2 separate regions of the Homo sapiens genome follow, and region 2 is linked to region 1. The links are contacts of gene promoters, found by promoter capture Hi-C in human tissues and cell types (Jung and others, 2019). All regions are on one chromosome and are shown on one strand. The core of a region is centred on a gene start or on the middle of the fragment in contact, and the rest is flanking DNA. Distances in the headings are between cores, read along the strand shown. Region 1 holds the start of BATF2 (basic leucine zipper ATF-like transcription factor 2). Region 2 overlaps SF1 (splicing factor 1).

The links. Contacts are between HindIII fragments. The study calls those that stand out against the background at their distance.
Region 2: a contact is called between a fragment that was not itself captured here and the fragment with the promoter of BATF2 in region 1, in 1 of the 25 tissues and cell types used here (dorsolateral prefrontal cortex).

What each region holds. Positions count from the first base shown.
Region 1 is chr11:64,995,695-65,002,053 of GRCh38, reverse strand. BATF2 (basic leucine zipper ATF-like transcription factor 2) reads left to right here and starts at 5,083. Exons shown (of 3, transcript NM_138456.4): 1 at 5,083-5,178. The coding sequence starts at 5,140. RefSeq lists a cis regulatory region at 2,801-3,939 and an enhancer at 5,184-5,684. The HindIII fragment of the contact is 29,477 bases long and covers 1-6,359 here.
Region 2 is chr11:64,770,595-64,776,403 of GRCh38, reverse strand. SF1 (splicing factor 1) reads left to right here. Exons shown (of 13, transcript NM_004630.4): 3 at 2,899-2,974. Among named protein-coding and RNA genes, the nearest start is that of SF1, 5.0 kb to the left of the region's middle. RefSeq lists an enhancer at 3,579-3,668. The HindIII fragment of the contact is 3,858 bases long and covers 1-3,185 here.

The DNA.
Region 1 (6,359 bases), core at 3,834-6,333:
GCCCTGGGGAACTGCCCCTTCTTCACCCCTAGTCCTTATGGTTTAGATGGGGCTCACCCCAACCCTGGGCTCCAGGATGGGCTTGAGGCCCTGCCCTTGCCAATCTCACCTGGTCACAGTGATTGATGTCAGGAATAGGCACATGACCCAAGCCAGACCAAGGAAGGCCAGGCCTGGGACTTTTGTTGGAGCTACTGGGAAAGTGGGAGGGGCTGGGGATGTGCCTGCCCTGGGTTGCTGTGAAGCTGGTGTTTCTGGTGGCCATCCTACTCCCATGACCGGGCTCTGCCTGAGAATGTAGCCAGCCTGGAGGACAGCAAATAGAGTAAGAGTTTGACTCCTGATGACATCGTTTGGGCCTCGTGTCTGAAGCTGGTGCACTCTAGACTTGGTAGTAACTTAACTTAGATCATCTAATAAGGGAGAGAGACTCCTCTAACACAGATATCTGCTGCCTCCTGGTGAAGGTTTCATGAGCAGCTGCATGGAGAATACTTCACTTACGGCCGGGTGCAGTGGCTGATGCATGTAATCCCAGCATTTTGGGAGGCTGAGGCGGGAGGATCATGAGGTCAGGAGTTCAAGAACAGCCTGGCCAACATGGTGAAACCCTGTCTCTACTAAAAATACAAAAATTAGCTGGGCGTGGTGTTGCATATCTGTAATCCCAGCTACTCAGGAGGCTGAGGCAGGATAATTGCTTGAACCCAGGAGGCGGAGTTTGCAGTGAGGCAAGATCGCGCCACTGTACTCCAGCCTGGGTGACAAGAGCAAAATCCTGTCTCAAAAAAAAAAAAAAAAGGCTGGGTGCGGTGGCTTACGCCTGTAATCCCAGCACTTTGGGAGGCCGAGGCAGGTGGATCACTTGAGGCCAGGAGTTGGAGACTAGCCTGGCCAATGTGGAGAAACCCCGTCTCTGCTAAAAATACAAAAATTTTGCTGGGTGTGGTGGTGCCTGCCTATAGTCCCAGCTACTTAGGAGGCTGAGCCAGGAGAATCGCTTGAACCCAGGAGGCAGAGATTGCAGTGAGCTGAGATCCCACCACTGCACTTTAGCCTGGGTACAGAGCAAGACTCCATCGAAAGAAAGAAAGAAAGAAAGAAAGAAAGAAAGAAAGAGAGAGAGAGAGAGAAAGGAGGGAGGGAGGGAGGGAAACACAAGCCTGTTGTTACGTGAATAAAAATTAATCAGATATGTATTGAGTGCCTTTGTTAAGTTTAACAGATGTTTATGTGACTTAACTGTGGGCTGTGCACTGTTCTAAGCCCTTTACATAAATTACTTAAATCCTTCTATTATTATCCCCATTGGCCAGGCACGGTGGCTCACGCCTATAATCCCAGCACTTTGGGAGGCCAAGGCTGGCGGATCACCTAAGGTTGAGACCAGCCAGGCCAACATGGTGAAACCCCGTCTCTACTAAAAATGCAAAAATTAGCTGGGCATGGTGGCACACACCTGTAATCCCAGCTACTTGGGAGGCTGAGGCAGGAGAATCACTTGAACCTGGGAGGCGGAGGTTGCAGTGAGCCGAGATCGCACCACCGCACTCCAGCCTGGGAGACAGAGCAAGACTCTGTCTCAAAACAAAAAACAAAAAACAGGCCGCGTGCAATGGCTCACGCCTGTAATCCCAGCACTTTGGGAGGCTGAGGCTGGCAGATCACTTGAGGTCAGGAGTTCGAGATCAGCCTGGCCAACATGGTGAAACCCCATCTCTACTAAAAATACAAAAAATTAGGTGGGTGTGGTGGCGTACACCTGTAATTCCAGCTACTTGGGAGGCTGAGGCAGGTGAATCACTGGAACCCTGGAGACAGAGGTTGCAGTGAGCCAAGATTGTGCCACTGTACTCTAGCCTGGGTGACAGAGTGGGACTCCGTCTCAAAAAAAAAAAAAAAAAGGGACAGGGCTTCAGGGCATTCTGGCTTCTCCCAAAACAGTGGTGTGACTTTCTCTTCCCTATAATTCAGTTTATTCATTGGTGAAATGATGAAGTTGGTTGGGGGGAGCCCACCAGGAACCCAGGGCAGGTCCTATGGGAATGAGTGAAAAGTTTCTTTCCTCAGGAAAGTTTTGGGGTTCCTGGGTGGCAAGCTGCCTGCTGGACTTTAATTAATTAATTCATTAATTGAGCATCTATTACGTGAAGGCAGTGTTTGAAGCACTGGGGATCCTTCAAAGAACCAGTCCTGCCATGTAGGAGCTCATTGGTAGCTGTGGTATTTGGGAGGCCTCCAACCCTCCACCCACTGGGGCTGCTGGCTCTGGACTAATGGACCAGGCCTTTCCAAGCAGAGTGTGGAGCAGGACTGAGGCCTAGAAGAGAGAGGTTGTGTTCTCCCTGCAGCTCTGCCCCTCCCGTGGAGTGACCTTGCCCCTCTGGGCATTAGTTTCCTCACCCTCTTTTATGAACTGAAAGTTTGTGTTCCCCCCCCAAACTCACACACTGAAGTGCCAACCCTTGGTAAGATGGTATTTGGAGGTGGGGCCTTCAGGAGGTAATTAGGCTTAGATAAGGTTGTGAGGGTGGGACCCTACAATGGGATGAGTGTCTTTATAAGAAGGCAGAGAGACCGTGTGAGAATACGGCAAGAGTGCCACCATCTTCCAGCCAGGAAGAGGCCTTGCCAGGAGCCAAACCTACCAGCACCTTGCTCTTGGATTTCTCAGCCCTCAGAACTGCGAGAAATAAAAGGCTGTCATTAAGCCACTCAGTTTCTGGTATTGCATTATAGCAGCCTGAGCTGACTGAGACACCGTCTAAGGCGAGGTCAGATTGGATGGTCCCACCAGCCTGGGAGAAGTCTCCCACAGCCATTCCTAGTTAAACATTACCCACCCTACCTCCCTCCCTCCCTGCCACTCCCTCTCCCAGCTGCCTCCTCAGGGAGCCATAAACGCTGCCTTCTTTGGTCTTCTCCCAGGGCTGTGGTGTTCTGGGAAGAGCTACACCTGCTGTCTCACCTCTGCCAGAAGCCAGGGTCTGGAGAAGAAAGACTGGGGGTCTGGGGCAGGGGCTGGGATCTGGAGTGGGACACTCAGGCCTAGCCCCTCCACACACACACACACACACACAAGCACACACGGGTGTTTCTTCGTAGTCACATCATGCACAAGGTGCCTGCAGATCCTCCCAGGGGAGCTCATGGGCTGGCTTAATGAGCCCTTCAGGTGCCTGCCTCAGGCAAGACGCCCCAGCCTTCCTGGTTTCCAGGAAACAATAATTCAGAGAAACAGGGATGGCCTCACTGCGTGGGGCATCCCACTTCCGCCTCTGCTCCCAGGCCCCTCAGAAGCTAGGAGGGCAAGGCCCAGCTCTTATGCCCAATCTCACCCACCCAGGCATTTTAAATTAGGAGCCTGCATTAATAATCTTAGAATCCAGAATATGACACCACAAATTTCAGGAGGGGGAATCCTTGCCACATAGTACTTTACAATATCCCAAGAGCTTTCTTCTCATCTCATTCTTTCCCATCTTCAAAACAACTGTCAAATAGGTATCATTTCTTTGTGATCACCAGCATATCTTTGAAGACACTGAGGCTCCAGGTGATAAACTGGGTGAGTGGAGTGCCAGGATGGAGAGTCAAGTCTTTTGTCTCTGAAACCCAGACTTGTTTTATGCCTGGTTCTAGGGATAGCAGGGGACTGCACTCTCCACACCTCTGCCCATAACAGGCATCACTAATCGATCATGGTGTGGCAGACATTGCTAATCAACTGCAGTACTCTTTTTTACTAAGCTCAGAGGTGTCCATGAACTCTTTAAAACAACATTCCAGCCACCATCACCTATCAGAAGATCATATCTGTATTTGCCATTCTTGTGATACCACATCATCAGCCATGAGCCCTCAGGTCTCAGGTACAACTCCAAGATGCTCTAGTCACCAGACCATAGGACTCTACATACTGCATGCATGCTGTTCTTGGACAGGAATTACTGGCCCCTCTGGCCCCCAAACAGATGCCCCATCCAAGTGTCCCTCTTAGAGATACAACAAGCATGCAGGTATGCCCGGGGCTTCAGGGTTTGCTAGGTCTTTATTTTTTAATTTTTAATTAATTAATTTTTTTGAAACAAGGTCTTGCTCTATTGCCCAGGCTGGAGTGCAGTGGCAAGATTATAGCTCACTGCAGCCTTGAACTCCTGGGCTCAAGTGATCCTCTCATCTCAGCCTCCTGAGTAACTGGGAATACAGGTGTGTGCCACCATGCCCAGTTATTTTTTTTATTTTTAATATAGATAAGGTCTTGCTATGTTGCCCAGGCTGGTCTCAAACTCCTGAGCTCAAGTAATCCTCCTGCCTTGGCCTCCCAGAGTACTTGGATTACAGGCATGAACCACTGCATCTGGCCTAACAAAATTGTTTTTATCCCCACTTTACAGATTTGGAAACAGAAACACAGATGAAATTACGAACCCAAGTCACATAGCTTGGAAGCTGGGCTCCTAACCACTGGACATCAATCTTTCCACTGCTTCATGGTCTGTTGTATGAAAACAGTAATGTATCCATCTGTTCTATCCAACAGCCATTGCTTAATTTTGCAGACATGCTTCCATAGTGGTCTCAGAAGGTTTGGGGGTGGTTGTATTATCTGGCTTAGTTCCTGCAATGAGCCTGGGAGTGGGTAGTTGTACCATCCTCCAGATGAGAAAACTAGGGCTCAGAGAAGGAGAGTCACTTTCTGAAAGTTGGACAGCTCCAATGTGTGCTGTGATCCAGAGTTCCCCCAATTCCAGAGCTCAAGGGCTCTCTCTACCCCACATGAGCATCGGTCCCCACTGGCTTCTTCTCTCATCTCAGTCCCTGGCCGCCTGTCCTCCCTCCCCTAGAACACCCTCCTCATACCTGGCCTTTGGTCTTCCCTCCTCTCCACCCTCCACCATCCTCTTTCCAGAGAAGGGGCCCAACCGGAAGGCCAGTTCATGTTAGGAAATTCTAGCCACGTGAGCAAGCCTGAGCCAGGGATTCTGAGCAGCTGGTGGCTTTAGGAGAAACTGAAACTTGGCCCTCTGGGGGCGGAGTGGCCACTGGGGATTTAAAGAGCTGCCACTTCCTTAGGCCTCCAGAGGGCACTGGGAAGTCACAGCTGCTGAGGGACCACTCTGCTCCCCCGCCTAAGCCATGCACCTCTGTGGGGGCAATGGGCTGCTGACCCAGACAGTGAGTACAGGGGATTGGGGATCGGGGATGAGAAGGGGAGCTGGGATCCCGTCCTCAGTGCCCAGGCAGTGAGGGCTGCAGTCGGGAGCTCCTAGTCCCAGCTCTATACTCTGAGCAGTGTGACAGAGGGCTCTGCATGCCCCTCTCTGGGTCTCACTTTCCTCCCCCGAAGTCGGGATTGGATTGGAATGAGTTGTTTCCAGCTCTCACATTGCAGATCCAGCCTTCGGTTTAGAACTTGGCCTCTGTGTACTTGCTCTCTCCTAACGTACCTGGTCCCCCCTCACTACACTCACAGCAGCCTTTCCTTCCTTCTCCAAATAACCCAGGCCGGCTCATGCCTGTAATCCCAGCCCCTTGGGAGTCTGAGGCCGGCAGATAACATGAGGTTAGGAGTTCAAGATCAGCCTGGCCAACATGGCGAAACCCCGTCTCTACTAGAAATACAAAAATTAGCCAGGTGTGGCAGGGCACGTCTGTAGTCTCAGCTACTCGAGAGGCTGAGGCAGGAAAGTTGCTTGAACCCGGGAGATGGAGGTTGCAGTAAGCTGAGCTCATGTCACTGCACTCCAGCCTGGGTGACAGAGAGAGACTCTGTCTCAATAAAATAAAATAGGCCGGGCTCAGTGGCTCACACCTGTAATCCCAGCACTTTGGGAGGCTGAGGCGGGCAGATCACCTGAGGTCAGGAGATCGAGACCATCCTGGCCAACATGGTGAAACCCCGTCTCTATTAAAAATAGAAAAATTAGCTGGGCGTGGTGGAGGCACATGCCTGTAATCCCAGCTTCTCAGGAGGCTGAGGCAGGAGAATCACTTGAACCTGGGAGGCGGAGGTCGCAGTGAGCCAAGATCACGCCACTGCACTCCAGCCTGGGCGACAGAGACTCTGTCTCAATAAAATAAAATAAAATAAAATAAAGTAAAATAATAAATAAATTCCCTGGGCCATGGTTTCCCTTGGAGGCTCTGCTTATCTCACAGGAGCCCCCTTCACTCACCGTGGGTCCTGTCTCAGCCTTTAGTTTCTTGGTGCCCCAGTGTCTACAGTGAGCCCGCTGTGGACATGGCCCAAGGGAGCATATGGAGCAGGAGCCTAGGAGCATTCAGAATCTGCAGCCAGGGCGGCCAGGGCCTTGCCTGAGGTCCTTACCCTCAAAACACATACCCCAGAGAGACTT
Region 2 (5,809 bases), core at 7-2,506, 220 kb after region 1:
TCTTTTTTGAGATGAGATACTTTCACGACTTTGGTATCATCTGTCAGTTTTTGCCCAGTGAGTTCTGCATTTGCAGCTCCTTGTTTTGGTCTGTTCGTAACTGCAGTGTTCTCCATGAGTATCAGGAAGGTAGGGTTTCACTTAGGAGTAAGAACAGTCCCCAGTCCAGCAGCCACCCTTTTCAGCTGCTGTTCATTGCCAGTTGATGAGGTGAGTGTCATCTGCCTCTCTGGACAGGCCCCAGTGGAGAACACCGCAGGTACTGTAAACCAAGTACTTTTCACAGCGTGGCCTTTCACCATAATTTTATATTTCTCCCCCTAAAATGTGGTCTTTTACTTTTTATAGGTACTTTCTGAAAAAAAAAAAATGACAAAAAGTGGTTCTGAAAGTGTGTTTACAATTTACCCCTTTTTATTTTCTTGAATTTAAGAGTTTAACCTTCCCTTCAACATCTTTTCTGGTTTGGTCTATGGAGAGCTGTCTTAAAATGAAGGCTCTTGTATTTACTTTTAAAGAACTCTGCTGGGAAAGGGATATTGCATGGATATGGAATGAAGTGCTAGGATAAAAAGGTTTTATTTGCTGGGAGGTTTTGAGAATTAATGACTATCCACAGTGGAATTGAAATTAACCTCAAAATTGCTTTTTTGGAAAAAAAAGTTTTTAATGCAAGTTTTATCTTTATATACCTGTGCAGCTGTCTCAAAAAAGTTCACTTTATAAACATTTCCTACTAACCAAATAAACATCCCCTTTGGAGGAAATTCGGGCAAAGACCTCCTAAACCTACGAGGCTGTGGCCTTCACAACCAAAAAGCTTCAAGGCCAGCATGTTACTACTTTTGAGGGTCTTAATTTCCTGTTTTTTAGACTGCTGAGAATTTTGAGGCGTTGGAATTGTCTGTCTCCTTTCACAGTACTACTAATACTTGTTCTTTCCCCTACTGTTCCTGTCTACTCCCACCCATTCCATTGTGTCTCATATTAGACTAGTCTGGGTCTTTACATCCTTGTGAAATGCCCCTAGTGGAGTGATATCCCAAGAACACAAGCATACTTAGAAGATGGGAAGAGCACAAATTCTTTATATCTCCATTTCTGTTTTTGTGGAGGGCTAGTTAGTTCACTGGGCCCTAAGGACTATTTATAGCTATAATCAAAATAGAATCAAAGGAGAGGTGTAGTTCTCCACAGAAGAGAATGACCCTTTTTATTTAGATCAGGCCCCACATCTCCATAGTCAGCTAGGAAGACTCACCTTCTCCCCTCAGTGAAGGTGACTTTCACCTCGAGTTGTTGAGCTTAATACTCAACTGCAAAGTCAGAACTTTTTAGGCATAAAGGAGCTTGGGGAACCATGTGTCTTACTACTTTTCTGTCTCCCACGGTACATACTGCTTTGTCCAGGATGCCCTCAATATCTTTTTTTTTTTTTTTTTGAGAGACTGAGTCTTGCTGTGTCGCCAGGCTGGAGTGTAGTGGTGCGATCTCGGCTCACTGCAACCTGCGTCTCCCGGGTTCAAGTGATTCTCCCACCTCAGCCTCCCAAGTAGCTGGGACTACAGGCGCACGCCACCATGCCCAGCTAATTTTTTTTGTAGTTTTAGTAGAGACGGGGTTTCACCATGTTGGCCAGGATGGTCTCGATCTCTTGTCCTCATGATCTGCCTGCCTTGGCCTCCCAAAGTACTGGGATTACAGGTGTGAGCCACTGTGCCCGGCCAGTATTTTCTTTCGATAATAATGGGTTTTCATTTCTTCAGGGTTTTAGTGTGTGGGTGTGGTATAGCCCTGTGGATGTATTTAAAGTTAGAAGGAATCTTTGGTTAGACACGCATTAATCCTATCTTGGAGCCAGCTCAGTTTTAACCCAACCTAGTAACATTTGCCCTTATTGGAGATGCCTGCTGAAAATTCTCAGATGCTGCGAAGGTAAGGAACAGGTGGTTATTCCGCATGTTGAAGAAAGCTGCTCTGGCTCTGCAGTTCCCATTATCTTGGAAAATCAGCTGTGTAACATTTCCCTGGCGTCACTGGCAACTTTTGTGAAACCCTCATCTCTCTTTTTCATGCACAGCCTCATTGGTCAAGGCCCGAGGGCCAAGTACATTGTCCTTGAACACACATTCCATTCTTCTACACGCCTGCTCCCCATATGAACAGTGAGCCTGAAAACAAATTCTTAGCACTTTATGGTTACTGGTTTATTAAGATATGTGGTTTGTCATTTAATATTTGAATAAATATTTCATATAATTGAATAAGAGCTGCAGGTATTGGGAGACCCTTACTAGTACAGGTCTGGTTGTACAGAAAGAGTATGTACAAATTTCTATAAGGTGTTGAATTTTGTTATTAAATGTCTTATTTAAGGAATTTTAAATGTATTAATGAAAATGATCTTTGCTCAATTGGTATTTTTCCTTGTCCCATGTTAATTGGGTCTCATTTTGGGCTATGTTTAACATTTAATGAAGAAAAAACTCAATTCTTGCCCTCAAGTAATTTGATGGGAGTCGGGTATTGGTGACGTAACATGGTTTATGGTTCTGGGTACCAATGGTAAGCAAGCCTTGGTGGGGAGGAAGAGGTGAAACACCTCCTAATAATTGCTTGGATGTTAGCCTTAGTGAACAGTCTTTATTGCTAACCCCTCTTCCAACAAACTGTTTGCTTCCTTAAGTGATAACCATTTTGAAGTGAAAAAAACCTATAGATGTAAAAGGACTCCTGCCGATAGGTGGTTGGGGGTTTTTGCTTCAATGTGTTCACTGATCAGTCGTCCCTTTCAAAGTCTCCGAGTTCTTCATGCTTGTTGTTGAGATTTGAGATGTTTATTGGTAACATTGTCTTTTTTCCATCCTTTTTTTTCTTTCCTAACCTGGTTTCTTCCAGTGCAACTGCAGATAGAAGACCTGACTCGTAAACTGCGCACAGGAGACCTGGGCATCCCCCCTAACCCTGAGGACAGGTTGGGAAACAGTTTTAACCAGCTGACAGTAACGCTTTTACCTTTTTCTCAATACGTTTTACTGGTGGCAACATATTGTGTCAGTTCAATAAAATCATAGTATGACGACTGTACCCTGACCACTTTGGGGATTAAGGTTTAATTAGAAATATGTATGGTCAGTCAACAGTTAGAAAATTGGAATAAAACTTAAAAATGTTGGGAGAATAAAAAGTTACAGGAAAATGGACAACTGGTTTCCAATTGGTAAGCATGTAGATCTTAACCTGATTTACCCACCCTTAGGGGACAGTGAGGTGGCCCGTTAACCTGCCTTTTCAGTACCTGCTTTGGCCAAAAGCCCAGGGCATAGAGTTTTTCTCACAGGTACACAGTGCAGGGACTAAAAATATTTTTGAGCATCACTGAACTTGAGCAAGCCAGGAGCTCTGGTCAGCTCATTGCTGCAGTCTTCCTGCTCATGGTTTTGAGATGGTTTCAAAATCAGATGAGATTTCTAACCAACTTCTTTCACTGCCAGTTAACTTTCAGCCTTGGCCATTGCCTTGGGGGTGTTGGGAGGGGCCAGAATATTCTCACCTATTTTGGGAAGGCATGCAACCAACCCTAAATTACTTTTTTTTTTTCCTTAAAGGGAGCGTGGGCCTCAAACAGCTGTGGTCATGTCATTTCAGTTTGCAGTTTCTCTCACCTCAGAAAAATAAATTGTGTGGGGGAGATGAACTTTTTTAAACTGGAATTTTATTAGCTGATTGAACAGCTAAAATTGGTCATTTAATTAGAAGGGCAGTAAGTCTCTCCCTCTCACTGAATTTTCTCTTAGTACATACAGAATAGTTGAAAAGACTTTGCTTTAAAAAGTAGTGTTTTTGGTTTTTGTTACCCAGTTAATAGCTTATTAAATCAGGAAGATGATGTAATGGCTTTAGAAGTCACTCACTCATGCATCTTTCTTCCGCCCTTTGCCAGGAAACATTAACTTCCTTGTTTCTCCATATTGACTCTTTAATTTGACTTACTACATTTGCTATATTTTACCTATAGATAGATTTTGGTTGTAGGGTTGTGTTGTGTTTCGTTTCTTTTTGAAGATTTTTTTTTTTTTTAAATTTACATTGTAGGTCATAGACCACAACTGTTTAGTGCCTTTTTGGCCTTTTTCCCTTTAATAATATGTCTACAGGTCACCAGTCAATTCCTCCAAAGGTTGAATTTTTAACAAACCTTCTTTGCTTCCTGGATAACTGGGATTAGAATTTAGTTGATCTAGCCGATGCCTGTTGGAGGTGAAGAAGTCGGGCCAGTCTAACCTCTAGAATACTAGCTTTTGCCTTTCACTTCTGCAATTTGGGAGGAGGTTAAACTGTTGTGAGGCCTTCACATGGCCAATTGGGTGCTGGTAAGACTTGTTTTTGTAACTAGCTAAGAATGCTTAATTCTAGACAGCTGTGGGGTGGGAATTAGAAATGTCAAGCATGTTAGAAATAAAACCAGAGCAGGGTTTTTCCTCCCTTCTATTCAGTTTTGAAAGAGGCCCTAATGCCTGATTGGTTTTGCTTTTGAGCCCAGGTTGGAGGGAAATGCATGGGTTTTCTTAATTAAGATAATTTCTTAAAAAGGTGTTATATCACTTAAGCCACTTTATTGTTATTTTGATGCTGCTTAACTTGCACAGTAAAAACATGTTTAAAACTTTTCTTGTAGACTTAAATGTATAAGATGGTAGTCTAATGAGCTGGGGTATGTTTGCTTTTGTTCACTCTTAATGGATTGTGCTAACAGTTTATACAAATGCTAGAAACGGAGGTGTCATTTAGCCGTCATTAGCCATGAACAAACCTGACCTTTTATTCCATCGTGTGTGTAACGTGGTGTGACATGGTTCCCTTTAGGCTGAAGACAGTGGGAGCAGCCGAGTTCAGTCCTTGCTCTCCAACTAGGCAAGGTTCTCTCAACTAAACCAAGGGTATAGGAGTCTTGATTACTTTCAGTATGTTTTTTTAATAACCTGATCCACATGGTCTCTTCCCTTCTTGCAGCTGCTACTAAATTTTCATTCAGAATATCAAGCTATGGTCCTTTTTGTAATCTTAACTCAAAATTCTAGGAGTGTAACCTCTCTTTTTTATTACCGCAAAATCCAGCTGTGGTAAACTGACCATTTTATCATTACATTTTTTTACTTGTAGCAACAGCATTTTACTCCTTAAAAAAATGAGAGAGAGAAAATCTGCTTTCTGGACTTGTAAACTCTGGTGGAGAATCATAGGTTTTCCCCTTGCTGTTTGCAGGTTCAGACCCTAGACAAGTATGACCAAATCTGCATTTGCAGCCTCTCGCAGAAGCTGCTTTAGCACTTTAACGTTTTTCTCTACCCAGACTCCCCAACCTCGAACAGCCAGAAAACAGGTTGTCTCCTGGGCCTTGGACACAGCCAGCCAGGCCATTGAAGGAAAAGCAAAGACGAAGCGAACCATCTCTCTCCATTGTGGGGGCCAAGTAGCTGCAGTAGCCTTCAGTCCCAGTTGCATTGGGTTAAAGAGCTCATACATACTATGTGTTAGGGGTACAGAAGCTTTTCCTCATAGGGCATGAGCTCTCCAAGAGTTAACCTTTTGCCTAAACTTGGGGTTTCTGTGGTTCATAAAGTTGGGATATGTATTTTTTTTCAAATGGAAGAAAATCCGTATTTGGCAAGAAGACTCCAGGGGATGATACTGTCCTTGCCACTTACAGTCCAAAGATTTTCCCCAAAGAATAGACATTTTTTCCTCTCATCACTTCTAGATGCAAAATCTTTTATTTTTTTCCTTTCTCACACACACCCCAGACCCC